2 separate regions of the Homo sapiens genome follow, and region 2 is linked to region 1. The links are contacts of gene promoters, found by promoter capture Hi-C in blood cells and fetal thymus (Javierre and others, 2016). All regions are on one chromosome and are shown on one strand. Each heading gives the region's core, a stretch centred on a gene start or on the middle of the fragment in contact. The rest is flanking DNA. Distances are from core to core; before and after follow the strand shown. Region 1 holds the start of ZW10 (zw10 kinetochore protein). Region 2 overlaps REXO2 (RNA exonuclease 2).

What was found. The method cuts DNA at HindIII sites, captures the fragments that hold promoters and counts their contacts. A CHiCAGO score of 5 or more calls a contact.
Region 2: a fragment that was not itself captured here is called in contact with the fragment with the promoter of ZW10 in region 1 in 5 of 17 cell types (fetal thymus, non-activated CD4 T cells, total B cells and 2 more); the score reaches 7.7 in fetal thymus.

The regions. Positions count from the first base shown.
Region 1 is chr11:113,770,629-113,775,875 of GRCh38, reverse strand. ZW10 (zw10 kinetochore protein) reads left to right here and starts at 2,184. Exons shown (of 16, transcript NM_004724.4): 1 at 2,184-2,314. The coding sequence starts at 2,210. RefSeq lists enhancers at 1,994-2,053, 2,184-2,453. The HindIII fragment of the contact is 9,750 bases long and covers 1,552-5,247 here.
Region 2 is chr11:114,441,489-114,446,547 of GRCh38, reverse strand. REXO2 (RNA exonuclease 2) reads right to left here. Exons shown (of 7, transcript NM_015523.4): 3 at 2,615-2,692; 4 at 1,896-2,007; 5 at 461-569. Among named protein-coding and RNA genes, the nearest start is that of REXO2, 4.6 kb to the right of the region's middle. The HindIII fragment of the contact is 192 bases long and covers 2,569-2,760 here.

The DNA of each region.
Region 1 (5,247 bases), core at 935-3,434:
GGAACTGAGAAACAGAACAATAGAAAAATAACTGATTGATTGGCATCAGTTTAGTTCAGGTACTTTTTTGTAAGAATTAAAACAGAGGGAACTTCGTTATCATGAAGACTGAAACTGGCAGGTTTGGGAATTTGGTGATTATCTCTCATTCTCCTGATTTCTCAGAAGGTCAGACAGACAGCTTAGTTTTGGTTTGGCGAAGTAGAGCTTTAGCATGAGTGACTCCATTTTGGTTTGGTCTGTTGGGCTTAGTGCAGGAACTCAGTCCAAAGTGATGGCCTCCTGTAAATGTTAACATTGTGAAACCTTTCTAATTCAGTCAGAGACTGGGTGCTCTTCCTCCAATATTTCCTCTGCCATTTGCATCTTCCTCAGGGGCAGATTAAACTTCACAGCTCATTACTTGCACAAGCCCCTTCTAAGGCTGACATCTAATTTTGTATTCATTATTTTATATTCTTTTCTTTAAAGAGTCCTTCCCCTCCCTGCAACTGTATAAGATTTAAGTTCCACTAAATCTAGATCCATCCCTCATCTACCTACAAATTAGTAATTATCATATTTTTCTGTGATTATATATTCACATGTTGTGGGTCCCCAGACCTAGCACAATGTCTGCTATGTGATAATTGCTTAATAAATATGCAGTACAAAGTTTCAGAATTTTCATCTATCAGTCATTCTTTGTCATTGGGCATTTATTATTAGTTGCAGTTAGAATTCAAAGTTGACAGGTCTACCAAAAAGAAATTGATTTGGTTTTCCAAGGAAGGGAGTTTCTCAGGATGTTTTGGCTGTTTTCAGTGCTTCCTCTCTCAATCCCAGTTTTGTTTCCTTTGCTCATGGCATGTGAATTGGCCCTTGCTTCACTGGGATAAGCAGATTGTCTCAAAGACACTTAACAATTGTCAGGGATCTTAGAGTCAGTGCCTACTTGGGGTCAACCCTCACAATATATCTTTTTAAAAAACCAAAAACCTTTTAATCAAAACAGTACATCTGGCTCTTGGTATCCACGGATCCAACCAACCACAGATCAAAAATATTCTGGAAAAAACTAATAAAAAATAACAATACAACAACAAAAAATAATGCAAATCAAAATACAATATAACGACTCTATAGCATTTAGATTGATTTGTATTAGGTCTTATAAGTAATCAAGAGATGATTTAAAGTGTATGGGGAGGATGTGTGCTGGTTACTTGTAAACATTACATCATTTTATGTAAGAGACTTGAGCATCCACGGATTTTGCTACTGGGGCAGGGGAGGTTTCTGGAACCAATCCCCCCATACCAAGGGAGGACTGTGTATGTTTACTGCAGAAAAATAGAGAAAGCAAGGGCAGAGAAGAGAATAAATACCATAAATCCACCACCCATAGGATAATTTGATGTCTGTCCTTTACATACATACTTACATACTTTTTGTTTTCTGACCAATGGTTATACACTTAAGTTTTTAAAAAGGAATCATAGTATACATAGAATATTGTGAACATCTTTCTGTATGCAATGCATTAAAATAATGAAACCATTTTTAAAAGCTTTTGACACATTTATATATTTATAATATGACAGAAAGTACTAAGTATCTTGTTCACACAGGACTAATATTATGTATATCTAAGTAATATAAATATGTAATGTAGGTAATGTAAATGTGTAATGTATCACGTAGATGTAATATATGTACATAGATGCAATTATAAGCAACCTTTTATTTATAATGAGGTGACGCCACTTCTTTACACAACTCTAGAGGGCGCCATTCGTAGATTCTGGTGCCACAGCGGCCCAATAAAAGTTGAGGAAAAAAGATCGAGATGGGCTCGTTGGCTCTTTCAGTTAGATAATTTTACAAGTAAGCCTTTTGAAGTTTAGAAAGGTTCAGTTAGACCTGGTTATTAAAAACGTTTAATTTCCTCCAGTGAAAAACGGGCGGGAAGCAACGAACTTTGAAAACAACTAAGGAAGAAAACGCGTCTGCTTACAGTTTGCCAACTACGGGACACCGTGGAAATCCCATCTCGGGATTGGCGCGGTGCCTGCTGGGAGTTGTAGTGCGCCCCTCGCCTTCCGGGCGGCGGTCTGAGGCCCGCGAGACTCCGTTTCCCGGCAGGCCTCGCGTCAAGACGGCCGGCGGGACGGGAGCTGCGGCGCTGGCTACGAGAGTGACCCAGTCAGCGTTGGTTCCCGTCTTGGCCATGGCCTCGTTCGTGACAGAAGTTTTGGCACACTCCGGGAGGCTGGAAAAGGAGGATCTGGGGACCCGGATCAGCCGCCTGACCCGGCGGGTGGAGGAGATCAAGGTGAGAGCGGGGCAGCTGTCTGCTGACTGGAAGGGGACTCCGGGTCCTTGTGTGAAGGGACTGGAGAGAGGAGTCAGGGGCTAAGGGCAGACAGAGTGGGGACCAGCAGAGTGGGGCCTGTTGGGGAGATCTAGTTGTGGGGGCTGAATGAGGAGTGGAGGGGCCCAGAATGTGTGGATTGAGGAGGGATCTTGGAGGGGAGCCCACACAGGGGTTGGGAACTGAGGAGGCGAGGAGACCTGGGACTGTGGGGACGAACAGGCGGTGGCTGGAGAGCACTGGAGAGTGGAGTTATGTTGGGGAGGGGTGTGCCGCGGGAAGAGGGAGACTGAAGAGACCAGCAGAGCGGGAGGAGCAACTGGAAGCTCCGAGGAAGCTAGGGAGCGAGCGCAGGAGAGGAATAGAAAAGACAGGATCCCCCTTCCCCTTCTTCCATCGATGAGTGTTTATTTCCTCCACCCACTCCTTGATTTGTTGATGAATAAAATAGCCTGGAGGATTGCACCTTTCTCCTCCCCGACATTAAAAAAAAAACAAACCCAAACCCTCAGTATGTTTTTATTTTTATGTATCTATCTATCTTTTGAGATGGAGTCTTGCTCTGTCGCCCAGGCTGGAGTGATCTCGGCTCACCGCGACCTCTGCCTCCCGGGTTCAAGCGATTCTCCTGCCTCAGCCTCCCGAGTAGCTGAGATTACAGGCGCGTGCCACCACGCCTGGCTAATTTTTTTTTTTTTTTTTTTGTATTTTTAGTACAGACGGAGTTTCACCATGTTGGCCAGACTGGTCTCGAACTCTTGACCTCAGGTGATCCACCCGCCTCGGCCTCCCAAAGTGCTGGGATTACAGGTGTAAGCCACCGTCTCCGGCCTCTTAATGTGGTTTTAAAACTTCATCTACAAGCACATGAAGCTGTGCTGAGTGTCATTGGTACCTACGTAAACGTTGCTGCCTTGAGATTGATACAAAAACTGGAAGCACGTAGCCACACACAGTTTTGCTTTGTACTGATATTGTTACCTTGCCAGTATTTGTCCACATCTTCAGTTGCTTTCATTTAAAATTTTGTGTATCTGAGTCAAGTAGGGTTTCGAGGGAGCAAGTTTGCCACACACCATAAGGGCACAGGTATAACCCTTCCTAACAGCTCTTGATTTTACAAAAGTAGTTTCCTGAATTTTAAGTAGTCATATCCCTGACATCTCTTCTTTAATATGGCTTTCGGATTTTTCACCACTGTTTAATGTGATGGAAAGAGGACAGGTTTTTAAGTTACTCTAGCATGGCAAGCGACCCTAGCTCCTGCGTGTTCTGGACCCAACATGCCTTTCTTTGCTTTCACTAGTTTCCTTTACCAACTTGAATCTTCAGCCAATTGAGAATTACTTTCTCTGCTCTCCCTCCCTTTTTTAATCCCATATTTTGCTTATGTTGCCATTTTTCCATCTTTACCTGTAGTATTTTTCAAACCCATTTTTCAAGTTCCATTTCAAATGTCTCCTGCATAAAAAAAAATCTTTATCTTCCCTCAGGGAGAGGGGATCTCTTTCTCATTTGTGCTCCTGGAAGGCTTTGTAACTTTGTTGCTGTATTACATTTCAGTCCTGTATTCTTGTTGCTCAAGTATATAGTATCTTTACTACGTAGGAATTTGAGGGCAAGCATAATTTGTTCTTTTTTTTAATTCATGTATTTATTCCTCTGTCAAAATAATAATTTAACAAAATTAGCCAGGCGTGGTGGTGTGCGCCTGTAATCCCCAGCTACTCTGGAGGCTGAGGCAGGAGGATCGTTTGAACCTGGGAGGTTGAGGTTGCAGTGAGCCGAGATTGTGCCACTGCGTTCCAGCCCGAGGGACGGAGTGAGACTCCATCTCAAAAAGAAAAACAAAATCAATTTAAAGCCATCACATTTTTAAAAGATAAAGGAGAATTTGTGGCACAGCTGCATTAACAAAACAAGACACCAGTCTAAAGTGCAACACTAAACAGGTGTTCTCTCTTCCCATGGTGGAATACATACACACAATTACACGTAAGATTTCACTGAAGATATGGAATGAGGCAAATAACCCTTTGAAATGAACCACCCAAGGAATAGAGACAGGCTAAAAATAATTTCTTTTAAGATTTTACTGTAAGATGGACCCCCTGCCCCCACTCCAGCCCAGGTAAGTACTAACTCAAACCCCTCATTTTATGTGCATGGCCTTGGCTTCTGTCTTCTTTCCTCAGCCACATCCAAATCCAGAAAGGCTTCTGTACCCTATGCTCAAAACGCAACCTCAGCCAGGTGCGGTGGCTCACGCCTGTAATCCCAGCACTTTGGGAGGCCAAGGTGGGTAGATAACCTGAGGTCAGGAGCTCCAGATCAGCCTGGCCAACATGGTGAAACTTCTTCTCTACTAAAAATACACAAATTAGCCGGGTGTGGTGGTGGGCGCCTGTAATCCCAGCTACTCTGGAGGCTGAGGCAGAAGAATCGCTTGAACCCGGGAAGTGGAAATTGCAGTGAGGTGAGATTGCTCCACCACTGCAGTCCAGCCTGGGCGACGGAGTGAGACTCTGTCTCAAAAAAAAAAAAAAAAAAAATAGCATCCTCAAGTCCCCGACTTGAGGAAGTACAGACTGACGTTAATGAGCCTGTGTGCAACGTGCAACCTTCATCTAGAACCTGCAGGGAAATCAGGAGCACAAACACAGAGTGCAGCATCATTTCTTTTTTTTTTTTTTTCTTTTTTGAGGTAGAGTCTCTCTCGCCCTGTCGCCCAGGCTGGAATGCAGTGGCGAGTTATTGGCTCACTGCAATCTCTGCCTTCTAGGTTCAAGTGATTCTCCTGCCTCAGCCTCCCAAGTAGCTGGGACTACAGGCGCCCACCACCGCGACCGGCTAATTTATTTGTATTTTAGTAGAGATGGGTTTTCACCATGTTG
Region 2 (5,059 bases), core at 1,415-3,914, 670 kb before region 1:
CCATTCCTCTTGCTCCAGCACAGTTAGATGCTGCTTCCCTTGTGACCTCACTAGTCCATACGCACATTTTCACTATAGGAGTCATCATAGAGTATATTTTCAGGGTGCGTTTTTTTACACATATGTCGATCCACTATTTTCTAAAGTACTTAAGAGCTTTTCATCTATATGTTCCCAGTCACAAGACTTCCACATAATATTAGTTAATCCAGAAAATGTATTGAGCACTTATTTTGTGCCAGGCATTGGCTTATTTACTGGGAACATGTCTGACGTTGTTGCTCCCAATTCTCACCAGTCCAGGGTAAGTTAAGGTCCTATACAAGCAAGAATGGGATGAGGAAGATATGAACCCACTTGGTAGCCTTAGTTCTACAGCTCTATCCAATTACTTTCCACAAATTCTCAATTAAAACATGCTAAATGAGGTAATTTAATGGATCCTAAATATAGCCCTTACCTGCACAGTTCTTTAACAGTGCTCACATCAATTATTCTATAATGAAGATGTTTCATGAACTGGGGCATGTATTTGTCAAGAAACTTCTTATCTTCATGAACTGAATTTCCTAGAAAGACACGAAGCATACTGCATCTCTATATTTCTAGTATTATACAACAGGATATCAAAATTCATAAGTTGTATTTGAAATGGAGATGATTTTTTAAAATTCAAACAATTCCTAAAAGCACCTCTATATTTCTAAATCAGGTTTGGGTAAATGTGATTAGCTTACAAGTACAGATTTCCAAGTACTTAGTCAGTTTAGCTCCTTATAAATTTGTAAATGACCTCTCATGAACAGAAGGACAAATCTATCATTCCACATGCTTGATGTAATGCACAAATCTATTTGTTACTTTCTAAGGTCATACCTGATATGCAAACTTTCTCCCAGTGTCACAAAATTCACACCACTAACACTAAAAATTTAACTGAATCACATAGGTAGATAAACCTTTATTTACAATCCAAATTTTTAAACAAATCATATGCATATTTATGTCCCCAAAAAGTAACTTATACTAAAAACACTAAATTTTAAATGAGACCTTTAAAACAGATATCAGCCACATTGGCTGGCGGAAACATTTACACAATATATGCTCTAGTACTTAATGCCAAAACTTATTTTTATAAATGTTTAAGAACAGTATTAGCTACCACATCGACTTACATATACAAACGTACATATACCTTCAGAGAAACATTAACTTCCCTCTGGCAATGTCACCCTTTTAAAAATCCTGGTAGAACAGGCCTGGTCTCTTTAGAAAGTCAATGACACAGGGGAAAAATAATAGGTGGAAAGTTTTACATTAAGAGACTAAAGAAATATAACTAAATGAAATGCACGAGCCTTGACTGAATCCTGGTTCAAAAACAAATATTTTGGGGAACATCTAATGTGGACTAGATATCATATGATACTGAATAATGTTTAATTATCTTCAATGCAATGACATTGTATTACATAAGAAAATGTCTTTATCTTAGGAGATGTTTGATGAAGTATTTAGGAATGAAGTGTCCTGATGCCTGCAATTTCCTTTAAAATGTCCAACAAAAAATAGGTAAAACAAATACGACACAAGGTTAACAATTACTAAATCCACTCCTCTGTGCATGTGAAATTTTTCCATCATAAAAATATGGGAGAAATTCTTATTGAGTAAGTTTGTGTTTCCCAGATCTCATGTCAGGTTTCAGGGCATTTTCCCAATACTCATGCTATAAACTACACAGAGAAACTTGAACAGAAAAGTTAAGATGTGTAACCCAAAGCAGGGTTAAGTGGAAGACATGGATGGGCTCGGCTAGTCTTTCTGGAACTGCAGTCTCTTGAACCACTACATATGGAAGACTATAAGATATACACAGGATTGGATTTTACCTGCAAGTGGACAGAGCCCTGGAGGAGTCTGCTGTCGTACAAAGGACAGAAATTCATACTCTGCCTGCTGCAATGTAATTGTACTCTCCTTCACTGCCTTGGTAAGGCCAGACTGCAAGAGAGAATCCCCAGCCCCCCACCAAAAACACATGTAAAGTCAGTTTTCAAAGGCATCCAGAAATGAAATTTCACTTTTAAAATGGGCAAATATAACCACAAATAGACCATTTTTAGAGCTCAAGTTCAAATTGCAACTGCCATCTTTGCACCATTTTTTTTTCTTCAAGAATCCAAGCCAACTTAGTTATGATCCTGACTGTTAATAGCATGTCCACAGTCAAAAAAGACGGTGTTCAAAGTCCAAGGATATTAACCTCTGGGAAGAAACAACTATTAACAGGAGAGCAGCAATCCCCCTTCTCTGAAAGTTGATGTCTAACCTTATCCAAAAGACTGACTTGAGTAATACTTGACAATCCACAATGCGTTCGCGACAGACTGAATGTAGGAGAGAAAAAAAAGAGGACATTCAGGAGAAGATGATCTCGAGAGGTCCCAAAGATGAAAAGTAAACAAGCAAGCAGTTTCCCAGGCTTGCCATGCAATCTTCTCTAAGCCTTTTTAAAATACCATCCAACAATGGTATCGGATTCAGGTGTGGGAGCAAAAAGCTTGCTACTGATCCCCAAAGCAGCAATCCTGTTATTTGGTAATGTTACCTTCCCGTGATGCTCCTTACACCAATCTGACATGCTGTCCAGCAACTCATCTGGTTGTTTTATAATCAGGTTAGGACCCTGTGGATGGGAAACGCCATCAGTCACCAAGAAACAACAGGAATAACCTTACTTTCAGAGGGAAAGCTTAAGCTGTTTTAAGGACTAAATATACATATCAGAGAAAGTAAGAGATAAGGATACTTTAAGTGTTCCCCCTTCATTCCAGCACTGTTCATTAAGGCAAAATAGAACATACGAACATACACACACCACTGAAAACTCTAATCCTACAAATAGATGACACAGATATCTATCAAGGGTCAGCAAACTATGGCCCCACACTTCAGCTATTTATTAATAGCTAGAAAGCTAAGAATGATTTTTACATTTGTAAAAGATTGTTTAAAAAAAAAAAAGAACATATGACAAGAACATATGACTGCACTCAAAGCCTAAACAATTTAATAACTTGCTCTTTCCAGAAAAGTCTGTCAACCCTTGATTATGAGTTCATTTTGAAAAGTGTCTAGGCCAAGCATGGTAATCCCAGCACTCTGGGAGGCCGAGGTGGGAGGATCACTTGAGGCCAGTAGTTCAAGACCAGTCCAGGCAACATAGCAAGACCTCATTTCTACAAAATTAAAAAAAAAAAAAAAAAAATTAGGTGGGCCTGGTGGCACACCCCTACAGTCCTAGCTTCTCAGGAGGCTGAGGCAGGAAGATCACTTGAACCCAGGAGTTCGAGGTTACAGTGAGCTACATGCCACTGCACTCCAACCTGGGTGACAGGGTGAGACCCTATCTCTTAAAAAAAAAAAGTATCTATATTGCAGGTGAAAAAAACAATTGCAAAACCATGTATGTATAGGTATGATTTCATTTACACTTGTTTTAAAAAAAACACGCATTTATATAAACATACAAAATATCAAGACAATACATAAACTTGGAGTAAGAAGGAGCAATAGAACAGGACAAAAATCCAATAGTTCACTACACACATACTTTGGATAGTTACACTGTTTTAACAGTATTTTTATATTTAAAAAAAAATTAAAGAGGTAATTGTTGATATCCAAAACACAAAGTAGCCCTCAAATTCTCAGCTCCATTTCATAGAACATCCAAGTATGAGTCTCTCAGATAAGTCCTGGCAGTTAACAGTAGCTACGGCATTAAAGCAAGTCACCTCAGCTTCTCCCTCTGTAAGATAGTGATAATAATAAACTGTACCCCTTCCCTCATAGAAATGTTAACAGGATAAAAGAAATTATAGATATGAGCTCTTTGAACTCTCTGATAGAAAAGTATTCCATAAATCCAAGGTATTATTACTACTAAGGTGGTAAAAACAGTTCACAATCACTGAAAGAAATGGCTAGAATTTAATTAAAATACGCCTGACATCCTACTACTAAAAAGGAGATTTAGCCAAACAAGAAAACTGGTGTTGGTAATCTCTGCGAAGAAACAAAAAATTTTGCTTGGATAACAGATGTTTTATGATAGTCACGAAGGAAAAAGAAAACCCAAACCTATGAAAATGAAAAAAAATACTCATACTATTAAAAAAAATACTAACAATGATGGAAAAATCAAACTACTACAAACTATTTTAGATCCCTATTTAGCAAGCCAAGGGACCACACCTACAGAAAAATTTTCAGAGTAGGATGCCTGCTCTTCTACCAGCATAAAACATTTTTCTCAGACTCTTATAAAAGAATAAAACATACTGCAGAACTGATAGCCCCTAAGCTTTTTTTTTTTTTTTAACATCTTTATCCTCATCTGACTTAGTCCATTTACAAATGCTGCATTCATCTGCAGCTGTGTGAATACATACCCAAATTTCCTCCAGGGTACATATCAACCTACGGGTCCATTAAACTGTCAGTATTTCACATTATATCAACAGTCTAAAGGAAACACTCTTCTTCGGCCAAGGGTAAGTTAGACTGGTAAAATAAAGACACTTCTCTTCACTATTGATCTCCAATAAATCCCAAGTAACAGAAAAAAACAACCAAATCTAAAACTCAGGGCTTTATTTATACAAAGTTAAAAAAGTTGTTATGATGAGAAGTACAAAGTCTCATGATTCTCCTACAGTTGATATGTGGGGAGGATAAGCCTGGTACTCCACAAACGCAGTCATTAATCTAGAAATACGTCCTCACCTCTTTTACCTACACAGCAAAACAAACAAAAGTGTTAACTGCAGATTTACGAAATGTATCCAGTGCCAGTAACATATCAATGCTACCCTCTAGGAACTTATTTTAACAAGACTCTCTTTTCCACAAACATCCCTACTTTGTTCCTATTCTGGAGTTTCTGGCTCTGAATACTGCTGACAGTATAAAACAGAATTATTCAGGGTCAGGGATTTCACCCCCTACCAGATGGTGTCACATCCTTATTAAATGTTTCATGAGTGGCTGA